2 separate regions of the Homo sapiens genome follow, and region 2 is linked to region 1. The links are contacts of gene promoters, found by promoter capture Hi-C in human tissues and cell types (Jung and others, 2019). All regions are on one chromosome and are shown on one strand. Each heading gives the region's core, a stretch centred on a gene start or on the middle of the fragment in contact. The rest is flanking DNA. Distances are from core to core; before and after follow the strand shown.

Region 1 (6,523 bases), core at 3,273-5,772:
TCTTTTGTAGACTATTTCAATGATATGAAGTTATGTCCAAGAAAGAAATCCCACTGAACTGTTGGCTAGACGAGGCCAACTCCTCCGGAAGTGGGCTGGCAGCGGCCAGCGAGGGGTCCTGCTGCAGAAGAACACCCCAGGAGCCTGGAATCCCTCCCTCAGCCCTACGGCATCAGTATACCTTTCCTCCCTTCAGCGCTCTTGGCTTGAAGCCGTGAAAAAGCCCTCGCGGAATTAGGCGACCGCCAAAACGGATTCCAACCCAGGAGAAGCCGCCTGTAGTTTACCCGAGGACCCAGGAGAGCAAGCGTGTTCTTTTTTCCCCAGCGCAGGAAGTAACCAGAGATACGAGCCGAGTGGTCTGGTGTCCTGGGATGGCCGCCCAGGCAGCCCTCGGCAACTCCCAGAACGTGGAGTTAGTTGCGGATGGCACCAGCTGACAGCCCTTTGACAGAGCATCTTCTCTTTGGGATATGGAAGGGCAAGAAGTAGATAAAACAGAGGAAACTGCAAAAAAAAAAAAAAAAAAAAAAAAAAAGCCCAATTTAAAAATATTTTCTTGGGCAAAAACTGTAATTTGAGAAAGAAAAATGTTACCGAACATATGAATAAAATGATACGCTAAACAGAGTATCAAAGATTGAAGCAAGGGGCTACCATAATTAGTTACCACTTCCTTGGTCCCCAGAGAGTGGAGAGAAGTCATTGAGTGATTTTTTTTTAATGGTTTTCAATAGTGAGTCACCAGGCCACCCCATTCTGAATTTCTTGGTGTTCTACTCTAAGCCTGCAGCAATTTTCTGAATAAAATTTCTCTAGAAGTGGAACAGGAGAGCTTGCCAGGAAGCACCCAGGACCAAGTCTTTCACTCTCCAGCTATCTAGTGCTCTACTGTAGCCAGATACCAAAGAAATGGTTCCTCCCCACAAGTTTAATGTTAGACTAGCTACAGGCATCAGAAATGCCAGTGAATATGCCCTGGGGCTCTAGCCAAGGAGCCAGCCTCCCCCTGGATCCCTGGGTGGAGGAATTTGCCCTGACACCCAGGATCTCGCTCTTTGTGAGTCCAAAAAATGGGAAGTAGACATTTCATGGTTCGGAGGAGCTAGAAACATTTCTTTGGAATGGTCCTGAGAACTGGGACTGGGCCATACGTTACGCCTCTACTACTCACAAAAATAATTAAAGCATTAATTCTGAAACCAATGGAAGGTTTTCAGAGAAGCTCATGTGGCCAGTATTTGGAGGAATGGTTTTATTCTCTTTGCGCTTTTTCTTTGCTGAACCTGGTAGGGCAGCGTGGTAAGCTCTAGCCTACCTAGCAAAAGAAGGATTGCCCCTGTCCATCTCATATCCCAGGTTCTTCTCCTGACATTTACAAAATAAACATCCTAAGTTCCTTGTTTTCACTCTGAAAATATTGTCAGCAACAAGCATCCAGTCATAGTCTTATTTCCTTTTTTCTTACATATATACATTATGTAATTTTCTGCTAGTGATTGACACTATTTTTTTCTTTAAATTTCCTGCAGCTACTCAAAATCTAAGCAGCTAAAAATAAGTCCTCCTCCTCAATCACACACATTGACCTACACCTACCAAGTTTCCAGGGACTCCTCTGTGGACTCTTAATTCCTTCAATCCCCATAGTGTACCTAATGGGTGCCAGGCTCTGTTCTGGGCACTGGAAGGGGGAAAGAAGGAGAGGGACAAAACGACAGAAAGTAGTCCCAGCCTTCCAGCAGTTAACAATCTCTCTAGTGCCCGTCCTCCCTCCACACATGCAAATTCACCTTAACTAGGCCTAAGAAGAGCATTCTTCCTACCCGTCACTTCCTTAGTAAGAAGAAAAATTTTGAGAGGTCAAATAAGAACACAGTAATATGTTGTTTCTGACTGAGAAACCACTGCAACTCAGTCAATTACGGGAGAACAATGGTTAGATAAATGGTGTGAATAGCCAAGAAAGATTAGGGAGATTTGCAAACCAAAGCAAATCCTGCACATACAATATTTTAATGTTTTAGAAAAAAATCAAAAATTACTGAGCAAGCCAACACATATGGTGCTTCTCCAGGTCTTTTCGTTGGCTCCTTCTTTAGGGACCAACACAGAGCCAGCCCCCCTTTTCATAAATGCCCTTGGGGGAGAGGGGAAGTTGAGCTCACCTGATGCCAGCCTTATTCAGGTGGACTCCAGAGGCTCAGCTGAGTGCCTCTCATGAAGGAGGGTTTCCAAGATCAAGTTCCTAATTAGCTACACAAAGAGAAAACCATGAACAATTTGTGCACTTGGTGGTATTTACTTCTTTCTTTCTTTTAACAAACTGCCTTTTGGGAAGATAGTTGTCATAAGGGCAAATCAATCACTTCAGCGGGATTAAAATATTGGGGCGGGGGCGGGGGGACAACTGTTTAGCTGAAAGACTCCCTGCTACTTTAACCCATTGTTTGGTCTCATGCTGTAGGAAATGAGAATGGAAACAATTAAAAACCAAAGATGCAGCTTTCCACCAAGGTACTGTAATATACTAGGCAGGAAATATATGTTTTGTGCTTGTGTGTATGCGTGTATGAATAGGTAGATATAGATACAAGTTTAAAGAGTTAATCGTGTTTTCTGAGTTCCTTTACATCAGTGTATTTTCCCTAAAATATCTTTTCTTCTCTGGGGGTTCCTAAATTCCTAACTGTTCATTATGAAAGTAGACATGAAATCCATTGAGATGAATTATTTGCAGGGCCTCCATATGCATTGTTTGGACAGGATGGGAGTGCCTCTGGTGATAAAACCAGCTAGATTAACCAGTCCCAGGACATGGCCGCCTTCAAGGAAGTCACGTTGACTGTATCCACTGAACTTGACCTACCTGGATTAGGATGTTGCCCTGGTGGTAGCAGGGACCTGGGCAAAGAGATAGGCCTACTCATGCCTGGGCCGGTGGGAACTTTTCCCAAAGGGTTGGCCAGCCCAAACTTTTGCCTTGGAAACCCAACTACCACCACTACCACAGCCTTGGCCTCTCTAAGGGCTTGGGAGCATTTGCAGTGGAAACACCACGGGTGGGCTGCAGTTCGGTGCCCCAGCAAGCAAACCTACAGTCTGAGTCTGGCCCAGCACAGGCTACACACACTTTATTCCATATCTGAGTCCAGATACCCCGGCTCTGAGAGGCTATTCTCATTGTAACCACCGCTTGCCTGGGGCTGAGGCTCGGCGCTGACCCGGCCATAACTGCCACGGGCTGGACAATGGGCACATCTGTCCTTTCTCTGAGGGATGAAAGCACCTAAGCGGACACGGCTCTGCCTTTTGTTGCGGATTTTTTTTCTTTCTTTTGTAAATGAAAGAAAGCCGCGGCATGTGGCGGCCGGGTGTACGTCTCAAACTGGGGGCCTCCGCACACGTCCCCACCAGGCCCAAAGACCAGGTTCGATTCCAGATTGGAGCGTGACTGTGGGAAGGGCGAAATTACTCCCGAAGCTGAATTGATTTTCAAATCTGGAGGCGTCTCTCGGGGACGCCGGGAAAAGGGCGTCCCTAGGGGCCAAGCGGAGACCCGCGCGCCGGCGTCCACCCTGTCTGCGTCAGTACTTCTGGAAAGCAACCGCCTCCGGGTGCTTTAGCAGGAGGGCCTTGGGAGTAACCGCAGGGACGGCCCGAGCCTCCACGGCCCCACCAGCACCCGGAAGTTAACATGGGTACCCTCCAGGGCACTCCCTCCGCTCTCCCTCGCCCCCCTCCACAGGCCGAGTCATCGGCGAAGCGGACGCACAGCCTTAATTATGAGCTGAGCGGGAGAAGGAGCCAGGCGGCGGGGGACAGTGAGGTATGGCCCGAACTGGGATTCTTGGCACTGATTACTCCTCTCCCCAGGGCATGGATGAGAAAGGGTGGGCAAGTATGTATCTGGGAGGACGAAGGGTGCCGGGTCAACGGCCGCCAAACGGACCCAGCCCTTTAAGCAATCTGCACCCCACCCCACCCCAACCCCCATCCCCCAATAGGCCGTGAATTCAAGGGTGGGAAAGCGCACTCCCAGCAGCCCCCCGGGAAATAAAGCTTAGTGGGCTAGAGCCGAAGGGGTGATGACACAGTCCCCAGCTCCCCGGGCAAGCTGCACCGGGAAGCAGCAACTGGAGAGAGAGGGGCGATGTCTCCAAGCACAGCACTCCAGCCGCTAGAAGCCCGACACGAGCGTCCCCGGGCTGGGAGGACAGAGCCCACTCAAGCAAGGGAGGCGAGCGAGCCAGGCGCGAGTCTCCTGGGATTGCAGCGGCGGCCCCAGGTCGCGCTCTGCGCCAATCTTTCGCACGTGCCCGCAGCTCCCTGGCCATCCAGCGCCGCAGGGAAGGCGCTGGGCCCCCTCCTTCATTTGTACCGGGACGCCAAGGGCCTGGCGCGCCGCGACCTAGGGGGCGGGGGCGGGCCTCGCGCATGCGCGCTGCGCCTGGCGGGCGTGAGGGCGGGCCGCTGCGGCGGCGGCGGCGGCGGCTACCGAACCGCGGCCACAGAGTCTGTAACAGTAACAGAGCCATGGCTCAAGCTGGCCAGCGGGGCGGGCAGGCAGCAGACGCGGCAGGCGCGCGGGCCGCGGCAGGGGAGCCGGAGACCTCAGAATTTTAAGAAAGAGAGGGGCGAGAGGTGGCCGAGGCGGGCGGGCTGGGGCACTGCGCTCTCCCAACGGCGCGGATCCTCTTTGGAAATTAATATTAAAAAAAAAAAAGCCGAGGACGCAGAGGGGAAGGTGGGGGGTAAGAGGGAAGGCGAGACACACACACACACACACACGCACACGCACACACGGACACACACACACGGAGAGAGAGAGAGAGAGAGACAGAGCCCCACAGTGAGAGGAAGGAAGGCAACAGTCGCCAGCAGCCGATGTGAAGACCGGACTCCGTGCGCCCCTCGCCGCCTCTGCCTGGCCACATCGATGTTGTGTCCGCCGCCTGCTCGCCCGGATCACGATGAACGCGCAGCTGACCATGGAAGCGATCGGCGAGCTGCACGGGGTGAGCCATGAGCCGGTGCCCGCCCCTGCCGACCTGCTGGGCGGCAGCCCCCACGCGCGCAGCTCCGTGGCGCACCGCGGCAGCCACCTGCCCCCCGCGCACCCGCGCTCCATGGGCATGGCGTCCCTGCTGGACGGCGGCAGCGGCGGCGGAGATTACCACCACCACCACCGGGCCCCTGAGCACAGCCTGGCCGGCCCCCTGCATCCCACCATGACCATGGCCTGCGAGACTCCCCCAGGTATGAGCATGCCCACCACCTACACCACCTTGACCCCTCTGCAGCCGCTGCCTCCCATCTCCACAGTCTCGGACAAGTTCCCCCACCATCACCACCACCACCATCACCACCACCACCCGCACCACCACCAGCGCCTGGCGGGCAACGTGAGCGGTAGCTTCACGCTCATGCGGGATGAGCGCGGGCTGGCCTCCATGAATAACCTCTATACCCCCTACCACAAGGACGTGGCCGGCATGGGCCAGAGCCTCTCGCCCCTCTCCAGCTCCGGTCTGGGCAGCATCCACAACTCCCAGCAAGGGCTCCCCCACTATGCCCACCCGGGGGCCGCCATGCCCACCGACAAGATGCTCACCCCCAACGGCTTCGAAGCCCACCACCCGGCCATGCTCGGCCGCCACGGGGAGCAGCACCTCACGCCCACCTCGGCCGGCATGGTGCCCATCAACGGCCTTCCTCCGCACCATCCCCACGCCCACCTGAACGCCCAGGGCCACGGGCAACTCCTGGGCACAGCCCGGGAGCCCAACCCTTCGGTGACCGGCGCGCAGGTCAGCAATGGAAGTAATTCAGGGCAGATGGAAGAGATCAATACCAAAGAGGTGGCGCAGCGTATCACCACCGAGCTCAAGCGCTACAGCATCCCACAGGCCATCTTCGCGCAGAGGGTGCTCTGCCGCTCCCAGGGGACCCTCTCGGACCTGCTGCGCAACCCCAAACCCTGGAGCAAACTCAAATCCGGCCGGGAGACCTTCCGGAGGATGTGGAAGTGGCTGCAGGAGCCGGAGTTCCAGCGCATGTCCGCGCTCCGCTTAGCAGGTGAGCCGGCCAAGGAGCTGGGCGCGCGGGAGATAAGGTACACGAAAGCCGAAGGGACCAAAGGAGGAAGGGTAGGAGAGAGGGCTGGGTGCGCTTCATCCCGCCCGCCCCTACCCCTAGAAGGGGGACTCCCTGTGCCTGGAAGGGCCAGCACAGGGCTGTGGGAGCAAATTGCCTACTCCAGGGCTCAGGGTGTTGGGCTGTGGAAGGCTCCGAGAGCTAAGCGGCCGGGCCTCGGCGACTGAAGAGGCTCATTTGCGCTCAGGGACAGCGAGGGAAGCTCGTACGGCCTGAGGCGGAGAGAAATCCCCGCACCTGGTGAGACACTCTGCGCCACCTCTCAGTTCAGCGATCCGGGTTTGGGAAGAGGGATGCAACGCGTGCGTGGAATCGCACGCAAATGTTCCTCGCAGGTACCTCTGACACATCCCAGGCGCTGGGCTGG
Region 2 (7,337 bases), core at 2,222-4,721, 460 kb before region 1:
TATTTTTAGTAGAGACAGGGTTTCACCATGTTCGCCAGGCTGGTCTCGAACTCCTGACCTCAGGTGATCCACCTACCTTGGCCTCCCAAAGTGTTGAGATTACAGGTGTGAGCCACTGCACCCAGCTGGCTCTTCTTAAATTAGATGTGTGTGTGTATATATATATATATATATATTTTTTTTTTTTAAATTTAAGACAGAGTCTCATTCTGTCACCCAGGCTGGAGTGCAGTGGTGCCATCTCAGCTCACTGCCACCTCCACCTCCCAGGCTCAAGTGATTCTCCTGCCTCAGCCTCCCGAGTAGCTGAGATTACAGCCGCGTGCCACCATGACAAACGCTAATTTTTATATTTTTTTAAGTAGATATGGGGTTTCACCATATTCACAAGGCTGGTCTTGAACTCCTGACCTCAAGTGATCTGCCCACCTTGGTCTCCTACACTGCTGGGATTACAGACATGAGCCACCATGCCTGGCCAGGAGTGAAAATTCTAATAGCTATGGTATGGTAGATCCAGAAAGTTCCCCATCTGACATATCCCTAATCTTGTGTTCAACATTTTTAACATCTTTTTTCTCATTTGATCCATATAAAACCCTGAAAGATAGGGTAGACACTTATTACTGCTATTTTACAGGTAAGCAAACTGAGGACCAAAGAGCTTCCATGGCCTATCCAATGCCGATTAGCTTGTGGGTAACAAAAGTAGGCCTAGAACACAGATTTCCTAGACTGGAACTAGACTGCTAGTTCCCGGATATGCCACTACATCTCACTGAGCCTGTGGTTGTGTTTTCTTTTGAACATACCAGATTGACTTCGCATGCATATAAGTTAAACACAGGACACTAGTAATAGTATGGAAAACATAAACTTCTGTAATTATTATGGCAGTCTCCTGGTATACGCCATTAAAGTATCTACCCAAATTAGTTTATTAGGACAATATTGTAAAGCATAGTTTTCTAAAAAATGTTATCTTTTAAAATATATTTTATATATATATATATCTTTGGCCCTAAATCTATGATCTAGGGTCTGAGTCCCAGGAAGAGATAGCTAGAAGAAAGAAGGGAGCAAAAATAATCCAAAAGAGATATTTGCTTACACCCTCAATTATTGGAAGCATAGGTCATTTTCTAGCTTGTCTTGCAGCATACAGTATCAGCAGAAGATTACTAGACGCTGTCTAGTAATTATTAGATGCCTCTCCAAGCTCTCTGGCCTCCTGAGAAGGCCCAACAGCATGGACATCTAGTGGGATTATCCTTGTTTGGACTGAAGAAGATTTTGTCTCCATCAAGTGATGGTGGTATGGATGCACCAGGACAGTATGGATTTGTGGCGCCCTCACAATGGGCAGGTGTTATCCAAAGGCCTGGGAAAAAGACGTTACCACTCCAGTGTAAGAATGGAAAATGTAGGCTGGGCACGGTGGCTCACACCTGTAATCCCAGCACTTTGGGAGGCTGAGGCAGGTGGATCACGAGGTCGGGAGATCAAGACCATCCTGGCTAATACGGTGAAACCCCGTCTCAACTAAAAATACAAGAAAAAAATTAGCCGGGCGTGGTGGCGGGTGCCTGTAGTCCCAGCTACTCCGGAGGCTGAGGCAGGAGAATGGTGTGAACCTGGGAGGTGGAGCTTGCAGTGAGCCAAGATCGCGCCACTGCACTCCAGCCTGTGCGACAGAGCGAGACTCCGTCCCAAGAAAAAAAAAAAAAAAAGGAAAATGTAGATTCTAATAGGAACCAAGAAGATGATGTTTGTGATTGCAAGTAAAATACTTCCTGAGGATGCCTAGAAATAATTAGAGGAAGAGGAGAAGGGGCACTTTGAATGGATCCTGGGTCAAGGTTTAGCCAGAGTAATAATGTATATATTGTATTGTGTATTATAGCTCTAGGCTGATGTGGGCTAAAGATACGGGTGAGTCACATTAATAGTTTTAGATTTTTATTGAAAACATCTGTTCCACTTTGTTTTAAGGAAAGGTACATTGATTTGGGGGTCTGACAGAGTTGGCTTTCAATGCTACCCTCACCCTGTTTACTAGTTCTGGATACTTGGGCAAGGAATAAAACCTGCCTAGATCTATTTTAAGTAAAATTGAGATGATGCTGAAGTCATGAGGTTGTTGGGAACCGTCCGATATTAAAGGGAACTGACTCTTTACAAAAGAAGTAAGTCTCATCTGAGAAGGCAAAGGCGGAGTATTTCACAGTTCTGAAAGCCCATGTCTGTCTCAGGGGTTAGCACAGCCCACGCGGGCAGACCGGGCATTCTGCCTGGTGCCCCTGTATTGTCACTCACCCAGCTGTTTCCTGGGGCCAGGTTCCTTCAGTAGGCACTGTGATCCAGGCCACTGGGACAGCTTAAGTCACATCCTCTTCCCCTGTCCCCATCTGGTTTGATGATCTACATCCCTGCATGTGCCTTTCCAGAAATGTGTTCAGAAGTAAGCCCTATATCCTTCCTTCAGAGGGAGAAGGCCAGGGGTCGGGTCTCTGTGAGGGGTGCTCTGAACACTGCTGGGGAAGATACAGGTGTCCTCCCTTTTCCTCACTCCCCCAACAGGCAAAGGACAGGAATCAAGCCTGTATCAAAGGCAGCAGTGGCAGAGGAGAAGGTCTGCTTCTGAGGAGGAATGAGCAAAGCTGTGGAGAATGCTTAAGTAGAATTGGCAGCAGGAATCTTTGATGCCCTCAGCAACAAACACTTGAGTGGCAGGACTGTAGTGTTGATTTTTCTTTTAATCTTCTCTCACCTTCATGATAACATAGTTCTCTGCTGGAAAAGTCATTCTTTACCCTTTTATGGCACTGAGGCCAAGAATCACAGAACTCTTGCTTCATTTCTAATTTTGAAATAAGTCCTCATTCCCTATAGTTACCAAAAAAAACAAAAACAAAAAAGTCAGTGTGTCCGTATATGACATCACTTTTTGTGGTCATGATGTTTCCCTCCATGCTTTGTTAAGAGCTGCTTAAAAGAGCTAGAGCCAACCCAACAAGCTGATTGATAGAGGCTGCATCAGAGGTGACTGAAAAGAAAGGACAGAGGGGAAGGGAGAAAAAAGGAATTTAGATCATGAAAGAAGCCCTTGAGTTTATCAGTTACTGGGGGTTGGATGACTCGCTGTTTGAAAAGCCAGAGAAACTTAGACAAGTGTTTCTCAGTCTGGCACAGGGGAAAGTGCTGGAAAACCAAGAATTGGTTGGTTTATAGAGGGAAGCTTTGGGATCTCTTTTTCTGAAAACCATCAAGAAAATCAGATGCTTTGGTTTGATTGGCAGCAACACTCTACTTAGAAGCCAGGAGGAAAACAGGCTGCTCTCAGAGCTCCATCAAGTGCAGCATGAGTCTGTAGGTCAGGACTTGTGTCTACGTTACCTGAACCATGGAGCCCAAAAGCAGAATAGGGTTCCTTCCTTTCCTTCCAGGAAAGTGGAACATCTCAGGTGCCCCATTGTTTTTATGTGAATGCATTGGTTTTATATTTTTCTCCTAGGCAAGAGATGCACCTGTCAGAGGAGCCCTGCAGGGAGAGTGAAAAAGGATAAAACCTGATGGAGAGGCATTGTGCTACAGACCAAGGACTCTCCACTCTGGCTGAGCATCAGAACCGCCTGCAGAGCTTAGTCAAATATTGAGCCTTCAGCCCACCCACAATGATGAGATTCAGTAAGTCTGTAGGGAGCCAGATCAGCTCTTGTTGTTGTTATTTTGAAGCTCTACAAGTGTTTGTGGTTGCACAACCAGAGTTCAGACCCACTGTAGATGTTTCCAGTGCATTATTTCACATAATCCACACAACAACCTGGTGAGGCAGATGGCTTATTCCCAGTTGTAACAATGAGAAAACGAACCCAGAAGGCTGCAACTTATTACTAAATGTTAATATATAGCAAGTGGTATAACTGAGATTGTTACCCAAATCTCCTTAGTCCACTGATGCCAAAGGGTGGTGTGTGTGTGTGTGTGTGTGTGTGTGTGTGTGTGTGAGAGAGAGGTCTGTGTTTGGTGTGCGTTAGTATTGAAGGGGGATGACACTGTTAAGTTTCCTCTTTTGATATATAACTCAGAGGGTAATGTTTTCCTCCCTTCCTAAAATAAATGACACAGAGAGAAACAAGGTACATGTATTAGTCCATTTTCACACTGCTGATAAAGACATACCCTAGACTAGGCAATTTACAAAGGAAAGAGTCTTAATGGACTGACAGTTCCATGTGGCTGGGGAGGCCTCACAATCATGGCGGAATGTGAAAGGCACATTTCACATGGTGGCAGACAAGAGAAGAGTGAGAGCCAAGGGAAAGGGGTTTCCCCTTATAAAACCATCAGATCTTGTGAGACTTATTCACCACCATGAGAACAGTATGGGGAAATCCACCCCCCATGATTCAATCATCTCCCACTGGGTCCCTCCCACAACACGAGGGAATTATGGAAGCTACAATTCAAGATGAGATTTGTGTCAGGACACAGCCAAACCGTATCAGTACATTTCTCCCTTTCAAACCAACTCCCTCTTGAATGAGGATGGGAACAGTGTTCATTTTATTTATCATAAGACAAGCATATGTTTATGCTTTTAAATATTTTGGAATAGCACATTTTCTTCTTTTTTATTGACACTTAGGTGGAAGCCATTGAAGGAACCTAAGAAGAAAAGGAAAACTAAAAATTGACGTAAATCAGAAGTTCACAACTCGGATTATGAAAGGAGTTAATAACATAAGTAAAGATCAATAAATTCTTTTATTATAGTTCTCAACTATATTAATTCTAGCTTACTTAATCACCAAAGTGAATAACTCTTTTAAACAAATACAGAAATTTATTTTTAATATCTCACTAAGAGCCAATTTTAAAAACAACAAAATACCACTACACACTTATCAGAACGGCCAAAACCCAGAACACTGACAACACCAAATGCTGGCAAGGATGTAGAGCTACAAGAACTCTCCTTCGTTGCTGATGGGAATGCAAAATGGCACAGCCACCTTGGAGGACAGTTTGGTGGTTTCTTACAAAACTAAACATACTCTTAACCATATGATCTAACAATCACAATTTTTAGTATTTACCCAAAGGAGTTGAAAACTTATGTTCGTTCAACATGTACACAGATGTTTATAGCACCTTTATTTATCATTGCCAAAAACTAGAAGCAACTAAGAAGTCCTTCAGTAGGTGAATGGGGAAATACTGTGGTACGTACAGACAATGGAATATTATTCAGTGCTAAAAACATCAAAGAGCTGTCAAGCCATGAAAAGACATGGTGGAAAATTAAATGCACATCGCTAAGTGAAGGAAGCCAATCTGAAAAGCCTACAAACTGTATGATTTTAATAACAGAACATTATTTAAAAGGCAAAACTATGGAGACAGTAAAAAGATGAGTGGTTGCCAGAGGTTGAGGGATAAAAGGAGAAATAAATAGGTATTTATTTATTATAATAAATAATAATAAATAGCTATGATATTTAACACAGATAATTTTTAAGGCAGTGAAAGCAGCCTATATGAAACTACAATGGTGGATACATGACATTATACATTTGTCCAGACTCATAGAATGTAAAACACCAATAGTGAACTCTAATGTAACCTATGGATTCTGGGTGGTGATAATGTGTCAATGTAGGTCCATCAGTTGTAAAAAATGAACCATTCTGGCAAGGGATGTTGATAGTTGGGGAGGCTGGGCATGTGTTGGGGCAAGGGGTATATGGGAAATTTTTGTAACTTTCACTCAATTTTTCTGTGAACCTAATACAGCTCTTTAAAAATTCTTTTTAAAAAACTTATTAATGGGTGAGATCACTAATTTATATCAGATAGGATAAACTCCTTTTAATTTATCTGCAAGGAAATGGCTGCCTTGATTTTCCCCAAGGACCCATGAGGACCAAAGGGATATGCAAGCACCTGGGAAACTATAAATTGCCACATAAAATGCATCACTGTCATCACTACTAATTTTAAATTGAAATATAAAATGTATGGAGCATCTGCAGAGCACCATATGGCCCACTATTCCTCACATTCTCCCCTCTCTCTTCCCTTTCTGCCTGCCCTTCCTCCTTTTCCTGGTTTCCTTCACCACACACTCCAACACTCTGTACTCTTCTTCCTAGGTGGCCTAACCTCAGAAGACACGGTGCCATCTTTTGCATTTAAAAACTCAGGACTAAAACAAAGAAATAAACATTGATGATGTACAGCTAACTGAGAAAAGCCTAATTCCAAGTGTTGCTCTGCCCCTAGTAAACAGATGAACATCATGTACACATGAAAAAGCAGTAGAAAAATAATGACAAGAAATGCAATAATGTAGCATCACATGGACATGAGATTCTCCTTTTCTTTTTCTTTTCTTTTTTTTTTTGAGACGGAGTCTCACTCTGTAGCCCAGGCTGGAGTGCAGTGGTGTGATCTCGGCTCACTGCAAGCTCTGCCTCCCCGGTTCACGCCATTCTCCTGCCTCAACCTCCCAAGTAACTGGGACTACAGGTGCCCGCCACCACACCCCGCTAATTTTTTGTATGTTTTAGTAGAGGCGGGGTTTCACTGTGATAGTCAGGATGATCTCAATCTCCTGACCTCGTGATCTGCCTGCCTCAGCCTCCCAAAGTGATGGGATTACAGGCGTGAGCCACCGCGCCTGGCCGAGATTCTCCTTTTCTTTTATTGCCGTTCCAATGTTCTTAAAGCAACTTTAAATATTAAATCTAATTTTTCACGTATTGTATCGCCAAGGCCCTCACCACATCCTTAAAACACCTTTCCCATCACTGAAAAAACAAACAAACAAAACAAAACTTTAAGATCAAATTCATGTGGTCAGAGTCTAGATCTTCTGTCAGACAAATGAATACCTGATAGTCTCCCTTTCTAGACAAGTCAGAAAGCATAAGTGGGCTGTTTTTCCTCATGTGTTTCCTCTTGTTTGCTCCTGCTCTCTGGGTGCCTACATCTATCCACACTTCATCAGAAGAGCTATCAGCTGAGCAGCTGGTCTCCTAGAATCCTGTGACTGACAGTGGCATCCTCCTATGTGGACCGTGGAACTGTCCAGTCCCCATGGCTAACACATCCCACTGTCGGGGCAGCCAGGATTGTTCCTATCAACCATCCTCATCCATTGCCCCACCTCCAGAAACCTGCTTTGGGGTCTCCAGAGGCATCTTCCCTTCCCCATTAATGAAGCAATCATACAATCATATTTTCAGCAATGGCCCCACCGTGCACTGTTGCTGAGATGTTCCCATTTTCAAAAAAAAAAATACATATATATTTTAACACATGTGTACATACAT

What was found. Contacts are between HindIII fragments. The study calls those that stand out against the background at their distance.
Region 2: a contact is called between a fragment that was not itself captured here and the fragment with the promoter of ONECUT1 in region 1, in 2 of the 25 tissues and cell types used here (lymphoblastoid cells and mesendoderm cells).

The regions. Positions count from the first base shown.
Region 1 is chr15:52,788,335-52,794,857 of GRCh38, reverse strand. ONECUT1 (one cut homeobox 1) reads left to right here and starts at 4,522. Exons shown (of 2, transcript NM_004498.4): 1 at 4,522-6,078. The coding sequence starts at 4,974. LOC105370824 (a long non-coding RNA gene) reads right to left here and starts at 4,428. Exons shown (of 2, transcript XR_001751550.2): 1 at 2,169-4,428; 2 at 1-507. RefSeq lists enhancers at 1-442, 2,699-3,466, 3,467-4,235, 4,232-4,526 and a silencer at 4,415-4,484. The HindIII fragment of the contact is 12,558 bases long and covers 1-6,523 here.
Region 2 is chr15:53,242,902-53,250,238 of GRCh38, reverse strand. No RefSeq gene overlaps it. Among named protein-coding and RNA genes, the nearest start is that of LINC02490, 130 kb to the right of the region's middle. The HindIII fragment of the contact is 3,887 bases long and covers 1,528-5,414 here.